3 separate regions of the Homo sapiens genome follow, and all the other regions are linked to region 3. The links are contacts of gene promoters, found by promoter capture Hi-C in blood cells and fetal thymus (Javierre and others, 2016). All regions are on one chromosome and are shown on one strand. Each heading gives the region's core, a stretch centred on a gene start or on the middle of the fragment in contact. The rest is flanking DNA. Distances are from core to core; before and after follow the strand shown. Region 1 overlaps SH3KBP1 (SH3 domain containing kinase binding protein 1). Region 2 overlaps SH3KBP1 (SH3 domain containing kinase binding protein 1). Region 3 holds the start of SH3KBP1 (SH3 domain containing kinase binding protein 1).

Evidence for each region. The method cuts DNA at HindIII sites, captures the fragments that hold promoters and counts their contacts. A CHiCAGO score of 5 or more calls a contact.
Region 1: a contact is called between a fragment that was not itself captured here and the fragment with the promoter of SH3KBP1 in region 3, in 12 of 17 cell types (activated CD4 T cells, naive CD8 T cells, total B cells and 9 more). The highest score is 13.8, in activated CD4 T cells.
Region 2: a fragment that was not itself captured here is called in contact with the fragment with the promoter of SH3KBP1 in region 3 in 10 of 17 cell types (activated CD4 T cells, monocytes, total B cells and 7 more); the score reaches 9.7 in activated CD4 T cells.

Annotation. Positions count from the first base shown.
Region 1 is chrX:19,793,156-19,796,254 of GRCh38, reverse strand. The region is part of intron 2 of SH3KBP1 (SH3 domain containing kinase binding protein 1); the gene reads left to right. Among named protein-coding and RNA genes, the nearest start is that of SH3KBP1, 93 kb to the left of the region's middle. The HindIII fragment of the contact is 2,235 bases long and covers 482-2,716 here.
Region 2 is chrX:19,760,391-19,763,238 of GRCh38, reverse strand. The region is part of intron 2 of SH3KBP1 (SH3 domain containing kinase binding protein 1); the gene reads left to right. Among named protein-coding and RNA genes, the nearest start is that of SH3KBP1, 130 kb to the left of the region's middle. The HindIII fragment of the contact is 4,616 bases long and covers 1-2,848 here.
Region 3 is chrX:19,885,954-19,888,940 of GRCh38, reverse strand. It overlaps SH3KBP1 (SH3 domain containing kinase binding protein 1), which reads left to right and starts at 1,341. Exons shown (of 18, transcript NM_031892.3): 1 at 1,341-1,634. The coding sequence starts at 1,631. RefSeq lists silencers at 890-1,189, 1,250-1,319, 1,800-1,939. The HindIII fragment of the contact is 9,463 bases long and covers 1-2,987 here.

The DNA.
Region 1 (3,099 bases), core at 350-2,849, 93 kb after region 3:
ACCAGGCTTGTCTGACTCCCAAATTCATCTTTTATTTGTTGATGTACTCAGTGTCTCCCAGGGCTATATCAACCAAGTTCTGCAGTTAAAAAAACATCTGGCAACCTGGTCTACGGTACACATCCCATGTAACTGAGGTAAGTTTCCTGAAACAGTAGCTGCCTTCACTGTGTGTGATGCCCTCTTGTATTCTCCATTCCATTCAACAGATGCTTGTCAGGACCTTCTAAACTGATTACGTGGCCCACCGATTGGTGGCAGTCCATTTGAAAACAGTTTGAGGGACATTAGTGTAGGTGAGGTGTAAACTATGCTTAGTTTATATAGAGGTTTACATGGTGTAAGCTATTAAAAAGAATTTTTATGGCAATATAATAGACATACATAAAATGCGCATGAGGGTACGGCTGTTGAATTTTTACAAACTAAACACATCTGCATAATTAGCACGAGATCAAAACACACACCATTGATTTAAGCTTCTTTGAATCAAGACAGAGGCATGAAGTACAACAGAAACTGATAGCCCCTCAGTTTGTTGTGAATTACGCACAAACAGCTTACTCCATAGGCAGACTCTTTTTGGAGGTCCGTAGCTTGCCTTTCCAGTGATGGGGTCTGGCTGGTATTTGTTTGAGATCTAAGAATTGCCGAAGGAGTGGAATATGGCCTCTGTAATGGCCTCAGAAATTAGCACAAAAGGAGGGCTGACTGAGAATGTGCCTCGTAAAATGTGAACATGGAGGAGGAGGAGGAGGAAAGGGCAAGGCCCCGTAGTTGAGTACAGAAACATTAGGGTGTGAGAATTTGTGGTCATAGTAATTGAGACCAATTTTACTGAAATGGAGGGCGGCAAAAGGAGGAAGGAAAAGGAATTTGTGATTACAGCACCAAGCCCCTAGAGGTTAAAGAACGTCTCTGTAAAATAAGGAATATCTACCTCTCATGGTGAGTGTTGACTTTTAGAGAAAATTGTTCTAGTATACTGAACTAAAATGCTTAATTCTTGGCAAAAGATACAGATGCATCTCCATGCAAAAGCAAGCTAAAGCAACTTTGCTTTCATAATGTATGGGTTCTGTAAAGCTGTCTTGGTGGACATGCCATATGTAATTCATCATAATGGGGTGTGCATAGAAATGAAAGGGAGCGAATATCGTAACATGCCTTGAAGCATTGAGTGCTAAGTTACAAAGGGCATTAATTAATACAACTTAATGGGATTCATTTATAGCTCACTTTTAGTCAAACTGAAATAGCTTTCCTGAATCAGGGACTTTGGGATAATAATAAATCCTTTTGTCTTTGTTGATCAGATAAGCTCTTATTCACTGACTTCCTGTTACTTTCTTGGCACCCAGAGTCATGCCTGGGCACTAAGGATTTGCTGAATGAATGGAAGGAGTAAGGACAAAAAAAATCGTAGCTAGCATTTAATGAGTGTGTACTGTGTGCTTTGCCTCTTTTATCTGATTTAGTCATCACTACAAGGCTGTGAGGCAGGCACTGTTATCATTTTCTTCTTTATTTTATTTTATTTTATTTATTTTTTGAGATAGAGTCTTGCTCTGTCGCCCAGGCTGGAGTGCAGTGGCGCTATCTCGGCTCACTGCAAGCTCTGCCTCCCGAGTTCATGCCATTCTCCTGCCTCAGCCTCCCGAGATGCTGGGACTCCAGGCGCCTGCCACCAAGCCCAGCTAATTCTTTGTATTTTTAGTAGAGACGGGGTTTCACCATGTTAGCCAGGATGGTCTCGATCTCCTGACCTCGTGATCCGCCCGCCTCAGCCTCCCAAAGTGCTGGGATTACAGGCGTGAGCCACCATGTCCGGCCTATTTATTTATCTATTTATTGAGACGGGATCTCACTCTCACCCAGGCTGGAGTGCAATGGTGCAATCACAGCTCACTGCAGCCTCGACCTCCTGGGCTCAAGTGAGCCTCCCACCTCTCAGCCTCCTGAGTAGCTGGGACTATAGTTGCACACCACCATGCCTGGCTGATTTTTTTTTTTTTTTTTTTTTTGTAGAGACAGGGTTTCACCATGTTGCCCAGGCTGGTCTTGAACTCCTGGGCTCAGTGATCTGCCTGCCTGGGCCTCCCAAAGTGTTGGGATTATAGGTGTGAGCCACCATGCCCAGCATTATCCCTTCTTTTAGAGCCACCTTATTTCCTCTACTTGCCTGGGGACCGTTCTGGTGTATGCCTGTTGTCCTCGCATTAACATTGACATCACCTGCTTTCATTCTCAGATGTCCTGGTCAGATGATAAACCATTTCACTCTGAAATGTTCTGGTTTGGATAGACAGATGAGGAAACTGAGACACAGAGAAGCCACATCACTTTCCATGGTCACCAAGCTAGTAAGATGTAAAGGTGGGATTCTTTCCTGGGAGTCTGATTCCAGGTCATGTTGTCTGATCACTAAGTTCTGGTGCTTCACAGTTTAAGCCAAGGGAGAGATAATATAGGAAAACCACTCTTTATGTTTTTCAGCTTCAGTATTTAGTAAAAATCACTGCCAAGTTAGCATCTGAAGTAGGTTAATGTGACTCAGGGCAGTGGGAATGTGCTAGGTAAAGACTCATTGAAACCCTAAGTGTGTGTTCATTAGTAAACTTGGCCAACTACTACCCTAGAATGATAATAGCATTCACATGTGCATGGTGCTTTATAGTTTACAAAACCTCTTCTCCCATATTATTGTGTTGAAGCTTCTTGTGCACTCAGAGGTGGGAGGTGGATGGCCAGTGGTGGGATTTCCAGTTTATAGAGGAGGATGGGGTAATCAGCAGGATAGTACAGTTGCCTGCCTGAGGCTTCACGGCTAGAAAAGAGGCAGATCCAGGATTCAACCCAGGTATTCCGCCTCAGCGATCAGTGCATTCCCACTTTAGCACGGGTGCCTCTTAGCCAGATATATATATATATATATATATATTTTTTTTTCCTTGAGACAATGTCTTGCTTGCTCTGTCACCTAGGCCAGAGTGCAGTGGTGTGATCACAACTCACTGTAGCCTCAACCTCCCAGGCTCAAACAATCCTCCCACCTCAGCCTCCCAAATAGCTGGGATTACAGGTGTGCAACCACCATGC
Region 2 (2,848 bases), core at 87-2,586, 130 kb after region 3:
ATCTGCTAAAAGTAAGGATGCACCAAGTTGTTGACCCAGAAATTTCACTCTAGGGAATTTGTCCCTCAGTTGCCTTTGTGGTATATGTGCAGAGTTATGGGCACAGTGATGCTCAATGTAGTGTTGTTTGTAATCGCAGAGGACTTGAGACAACTGGGTGGTTTCATGTGGGTTATAGTTCTGTGAGAAGAGAACTATCTCCTACCCAGCAAGATTCAAATAAGTTACCCGTTTAACCAGCCAAGGATACAGAAATTTAGAAAGGAGATTGCCTCAGGCAGGAGCGTATGAGGTATATATAAAAGGTATATCCCAGATACCAATCTCCACTCGCAGGTTTCCAGTGGTCTAAATGGCAAGGGAGATTTTGCCAGATCTCAGAAACAGCCAAAGTTTGCTGTGCCACAAATCTTTTTTCCATGAGCATTTCAGAAGAGCCAATGAGGACAACTGTTGTGCCTTCATCTGTGGTATGGTGACAAATAACGCAGCTCACCTGATTCACCTTGCCTGCTGCCTAGACAGAGCCGATTTATCAAGACAGGGGAATTGCAGTGGAGAAAGAGTAATTCCTGCAGAGCTGGCTGTGTGGGAGACCAGAGTTTTATTATTACTCAAGGAATTGGAATTTTTAAAGATAATTTGGCAGGTAGGGCTTGGGAAGTGGGTAGTGCTGATTCAGGTCAGGTTGGAGATGGAATCATAGTGGGGGTCAAAGTTAGGTTTCCTTGCTATCTTATGTTCCTGGGTGGGATCGCACAACTGGTTGAGCCAGTTTACCAGTCTGGATGGTGTCAGCTGATCTAGTAGAGGGTCTGCAAAATACCTCAAGCACTGATCTTAGGTTTTACAGTAGTGATGTTATCCCCAGGAGCAATTTGGGGAGGTTCAGACTCTTGCCAGGAGCTGCATGACCCCTAAACTGTAATTTCTAATCTTGCAGCTAATTTCTTAGCCCTCCAAAGGCATACTGGTCCCCAGGCAAGAAGAGGGTCTTTTCTGGAAAGGGCTATTATCAATTTTGTTTTACAGTCAAACCGTAAACTAAATTCTTTTCCAAGGTTAGTTCGGCCTACGCCCAGGAACGAACAGGGACAGCTTAAAGGTTAGAAGCAAGATGGAGTCGGTTAGGTCTGATCTCTTTCATTGTCATAATTTCCTCAGTTTTAATTTTCGCAAAGGCAGTTTCACTTCCGTGTTCCAAAATCTACTTTCAGACACAACCAGACTGTCCCTTTTGATACTGGTCTATCCTACAGTTGGATTCTGTGCAGCTATGAGGAAGAGGGGCAAAGCTCTGATGGAGAAGTTGTCTAAGATGCATTGTTAAGTTGAAGAAAGCAAGTTGCAGTATAGCACACATAGTAAGAGTCCATTTGTGTCCTCTTGTTATGTATTTTTTGGAATGAACATGTATACCTTTAATTATTAATTTTTGAGTGGTTACCCACACACAGTTTTGAAAGTCATATGCTGCTAAAAGATGTGTGAGTACCCAGCAGCCTCTTGTCCCTTCTCTTTGTGTCCTTATATTCTAGGAGGCAGTCGTTCTTCAGTTCTAGCTGTTGCTTCTACTATTTGCTGCTGTGCTTCTGAATAATATTCATTGCTGCTCTCTTGGTTTGTCGATTCTAGATATGATCTCTTAACTATCATGGTAGTTGAGGACTTCAGCTTTTCTCTATATGCACATATCTCAGGTTTTGCTTTAATCTATACTTAATGTTTTCATTAATGTAGCAATGTTGATATTGAATATTGAAGCAAGAATATACTATAATTAACTTACGTATATAGCTTTATTTCTCTCTCTCCCTCCTTTCCTCCCTCTCTCCCCATCTCCCTCTCTCCCTCTCTCTCCCCCCTCCCTCCCCACTCTCTCCCTTCTCTCTCTATCCCTCTCTCTCTCTGTCCTTCCTTCCTCTTCGTCCCTCCCTCTCTCTCTTTCTCTCTCCCCTACTTCCTCTCTTCTCTCTCTCTCTCCCTCCCTCTCTCACCACCATCTCCCTCTCCCTCCCTCTCTCTCTTCCCCCCCTCCCTCCTCCTTGTTTTCTTCTCCCCCCTCCCCTCCCCCCTCTCTACCTCTCTCCTTCTCCCTCTCCTGGAAAAACACCAGAGCCTTCCAACCTCCTGTTCCACTCTGCTGCCCAGCTGTCAGCCAGGAAATTCCCATCACACCTCCGCCGCCTCCTCTCTCTCATTGACTGTCCTGGATCTTGCGTCCTTCTCTTTCTTGTTTTACTCATTTGACTTGATGGAATGCACCCTCCAGTAGCCTTCTGAGGGAGCCAGTGCACGGCTTCAAGTAAATTTTTTGAAACTTCTTCAAAACCAACCACACTAGGAGTTGCATACTAAAAAGTTTTTCCTTTTAGCATTCAACCATCCCTTCTTAGCCCCTGGCCCATGTCTGTTGGCAGGTGGGGTTCTCCCTCCTACTGATGGAGCCAGAGAATCCTGGGACCCAGAGGCTGTGCCATTATTCACAAGATCTTATTTAATCTTCAGAATGGTTTGATAAACTAACAAAACTGAGGCACCAAGGTTACGCTCTCAGTGGTATCAGAACCAGGAATTGAAGTGTCAGCTGCTTGGGCCAGGCTGATGCCTTTCCTAATCTAGCTGCTCCTTACTGGAAGAAGGAATAACAGTACCATGCCCCAAGTGACACATGCCAGATGCATGTAACCATGGTTACAGGGTGAGTCCAATTCTCGGTGCCCACTTGTGTCTGGTTCCTGACAACTTCAGCTCTAGATAGCCATCCTTCTCTCTAGAAGTACCTTCCAGTATGTATGTATGTATGTATGTATGTATGTATGTATGTATGTATGTATGTATTTATTTA
Region 3 (2,987 bases), core at 92-2,591:
AAAACTCATGAAACAGTTATAAGAACAATTTTCTACAGAAATCCCAGGACGGTAACCAATTTACAAGAGTTGCCCCGCCAACACAGGTGAGGTATGGAGACAGCCCCTCTCTTGGGTAGGGGGTCGGCTTTCATTTGTCCCTTTTGAGTCCACTAGCCCTCAGCCTCCTCCATTTCCAGGGGCCACTGATGTAATTTCTCTATTGTCTTACGTGCTCTTTGCCTAAATGTCTCCCATGTAGTTCACTATCGCTTCCTACCACCAGATGGTGGAAAGGGAAAAGGAAATAACGGGCCGGTAGAGGAATGTGGTGGCAGGCAGAGTATCTATGGCGAAAGGTGTGGTGGTGAATGGACCCAAAACGGAGCTTCTGAATTGCCCACGAATGCCCACGGATTCCCTGTTAACATTTTAGCGCCCACTCAAGGGTCGGCCGTCCAGGTCTGGGAGTCAGTAAGGCACAATAATGCCTGCTAGGGAGGGAGCCAGCCCTCATCTCAGCGGATTCCTGGGAACGTCAGAGCTCGGGAACATTCCTGAACACCCGAACCGCACCTGGCCCAGGCACTGGGGCGGGGCTTAGGCGGGTCCCAGCGAGGCGATGCGTCCCCTCGGCCCCGCTGCGTCCTTCGCCCGTTTTTCCCCACGTCAGTGCCACCGCCTCCTCTGTGCGGAACTCGCACCTGGCCTGCCTGCGTTCCCACGCCCCACCGAAGGGACGCCGCGTTTCTCTCCCTTCCAAGGGACCCTTTTCCTTCCCCTCCAACAGCCCCCCGGGAAAACTCATTCCAGATTGCCTCGATGCCCCAGGGCCACCTGCCATCACCCTGGTCAGGCGTTTGGCCCCGGGCCTGCCCTGGTCTCCATCCCCAGCCCGTCCTCCACCTCTTGTCGCCCCCTCCCGCTCAGCCCCCTTCTCCTCCTTCTCCACGTGCCCCTGCACTCCCACGCCCCTCCCCCAAGAAGCCCCTCTCCTCCGGTCTCGAGGAGTCTCGCGGCACTTCCCGGGGCGTCAGCCCAGCCGCTGCGGGTGGGTGGCAGCCGCGCGGAGAGGGGTGCCTCTGGCGCGGGCGGTGAGGAGGGCGCCCAAGCCCCTCAGCCGCAGGGACGCCCCCGGCGCCTGCCCCGACGCGGCCCCGGCCCCGGCCCCGCCCCTCTCCGGCCCCGCCCCCGCCCGGCGGCCGCGCGTCCCCGGCAGGCGGAGCTGCAGGAGCCTCGCGGCAGCGCTGAGGAGGAGGGGAGAGCGGGCGGCGCGGCCGCGGCTGCCGGGCGCTGGGCTGGGCGGCGCTGTTTTTTTTTTTTTTTTTTTTTTTTTTTTTTTTTTTTTTTTTTTTTTTTTCGCAATTTCCACTCGCGGGGAGCAGGAAACCCGGCGCAGCCGGGCGCATTGGGCCGCGATGCAACAGCAGCAGCAGGAGTCGCCCCGGGGCAGCAGCGGCAGCAGCAGCAGAGGCAGCAGCGGGCGGCGCTGAGCCGCCGCCGCCGCCACTGAGGAAGAAGCCGGCCCAGCCGCCGCCGCGTCCGGACCCTCGCGCCTGGATCCCAGCGCCCCGATCCCGGCGCCCCAACCCCCACGCCCGCCTCCGCCAACTTTCACGCTGCCTCGGCGGCCCGGCCCGGCTCGACGCCAATGGGTGAGTGGGGGCCGCCCGCGTCCGGGCGTCCACTTCAGCCTTGAGGGCGGCGCGCCAGTCCCAGAACCGCGGAGCCCGGGAGGGCGCCCCGGGGGCAGGGTCCGGACGGGGGACACCGCGGTGGGCGCCCTCGCCTGCCTCGCGCACCCCCATTCACTCCCACTTGCGCCCGTGTGCCCGCCGAGCCCGCGCGCGGCGCCGACGGGAACCCGCGGGGGCCTGAGCAGACGATCACGGGGGCTGGCCCCGGGCGGCTCGGGCTGAGGGATGCAGGGGGTGTGGTTGGTTTTTCGGGTGGGCGGGGAGAGTTTTGTCTTGGCCATTTTTGCACCCGAGCGCGCCCTCCTCTGCGCTGCGGACACGGGCACCCGGACCTGGTGGGCTCCGGCCCTGCGCGGGGCTGCTGGTGTCTTCCTGGTCCTGTCTCGGGGGAAGCTGGAACCTCGGGGTCTTGGAGGGGGCTGGGTTGCCTTTGCTGGGGGTTGACAGGGGTTGGGGGGTGGGGCGGGAAACGCCCCAGTTCCTGGTCTGGCTCGCAGTCCCGGGGTCCAGAGCACCTGACGCTCCTCTCCTTGCGCCCCCCTTCCTCCCGGCCCCGACCCTTTCGCTGCTGCCTTCCTCCAGCCTGGCGAGCTCTCTGCTCCGTGATGCTAAAAGGCCACTTCCCATACTGTCCTTTAAGTCTTCAGGGTCTGGGACCTGGAAATGGTGATCCGGTCTTTGATTTACTGAGTAAACATCAGTTCGAAGTAGCCAACTAACCTTTGAACCCCCTGGGTCCCATTTGATTTAGACCCCGGAGCATTGGAACCACCTTGCTGCCCAGAGAAGCTGCCACTTTATTGGCAAGGCACTTATGATTACTTGGGCTATTAAATGTTTGGTCTACCCAGGTAATGTTCTTGCTGACAGCCAGCTTCTGTTTTTCAGCCTCTGGCAGATTATTTTTGGATGTTCCTAGGCCAGGCATAGGAAGGCTGCAGATAATAATAAATCATAATAAAGTGAGACCTTTCTGTGTTCAGGTAATAGGATTCCAGTACACTAGTCAGGATGTTCAGAAAGCCTGAAGGATTGGAAAAGAGGAGGTTTAACCCAGTCCGTTGTTGACAGGCAAAGTTAAAATCCCATTTGTGGTCATTTGCCAAAAAAGGTTTTCCTTTTCTAAGTAGTGGTGATCTGTTGTCCCCTTGGCTTAAATGTCACTTTTTTCACAGTGCCCTTCTCTCCCACCTGTAGTCTAAATTGGTTCCTGTTCCATTTTCTCATACAACACCTTTTTTTTTCGTAGCAGTATTACATATTTGTGCGTAACAGTTATCTCCTCTACTGTAAGCTCTGTGACCATAGGGA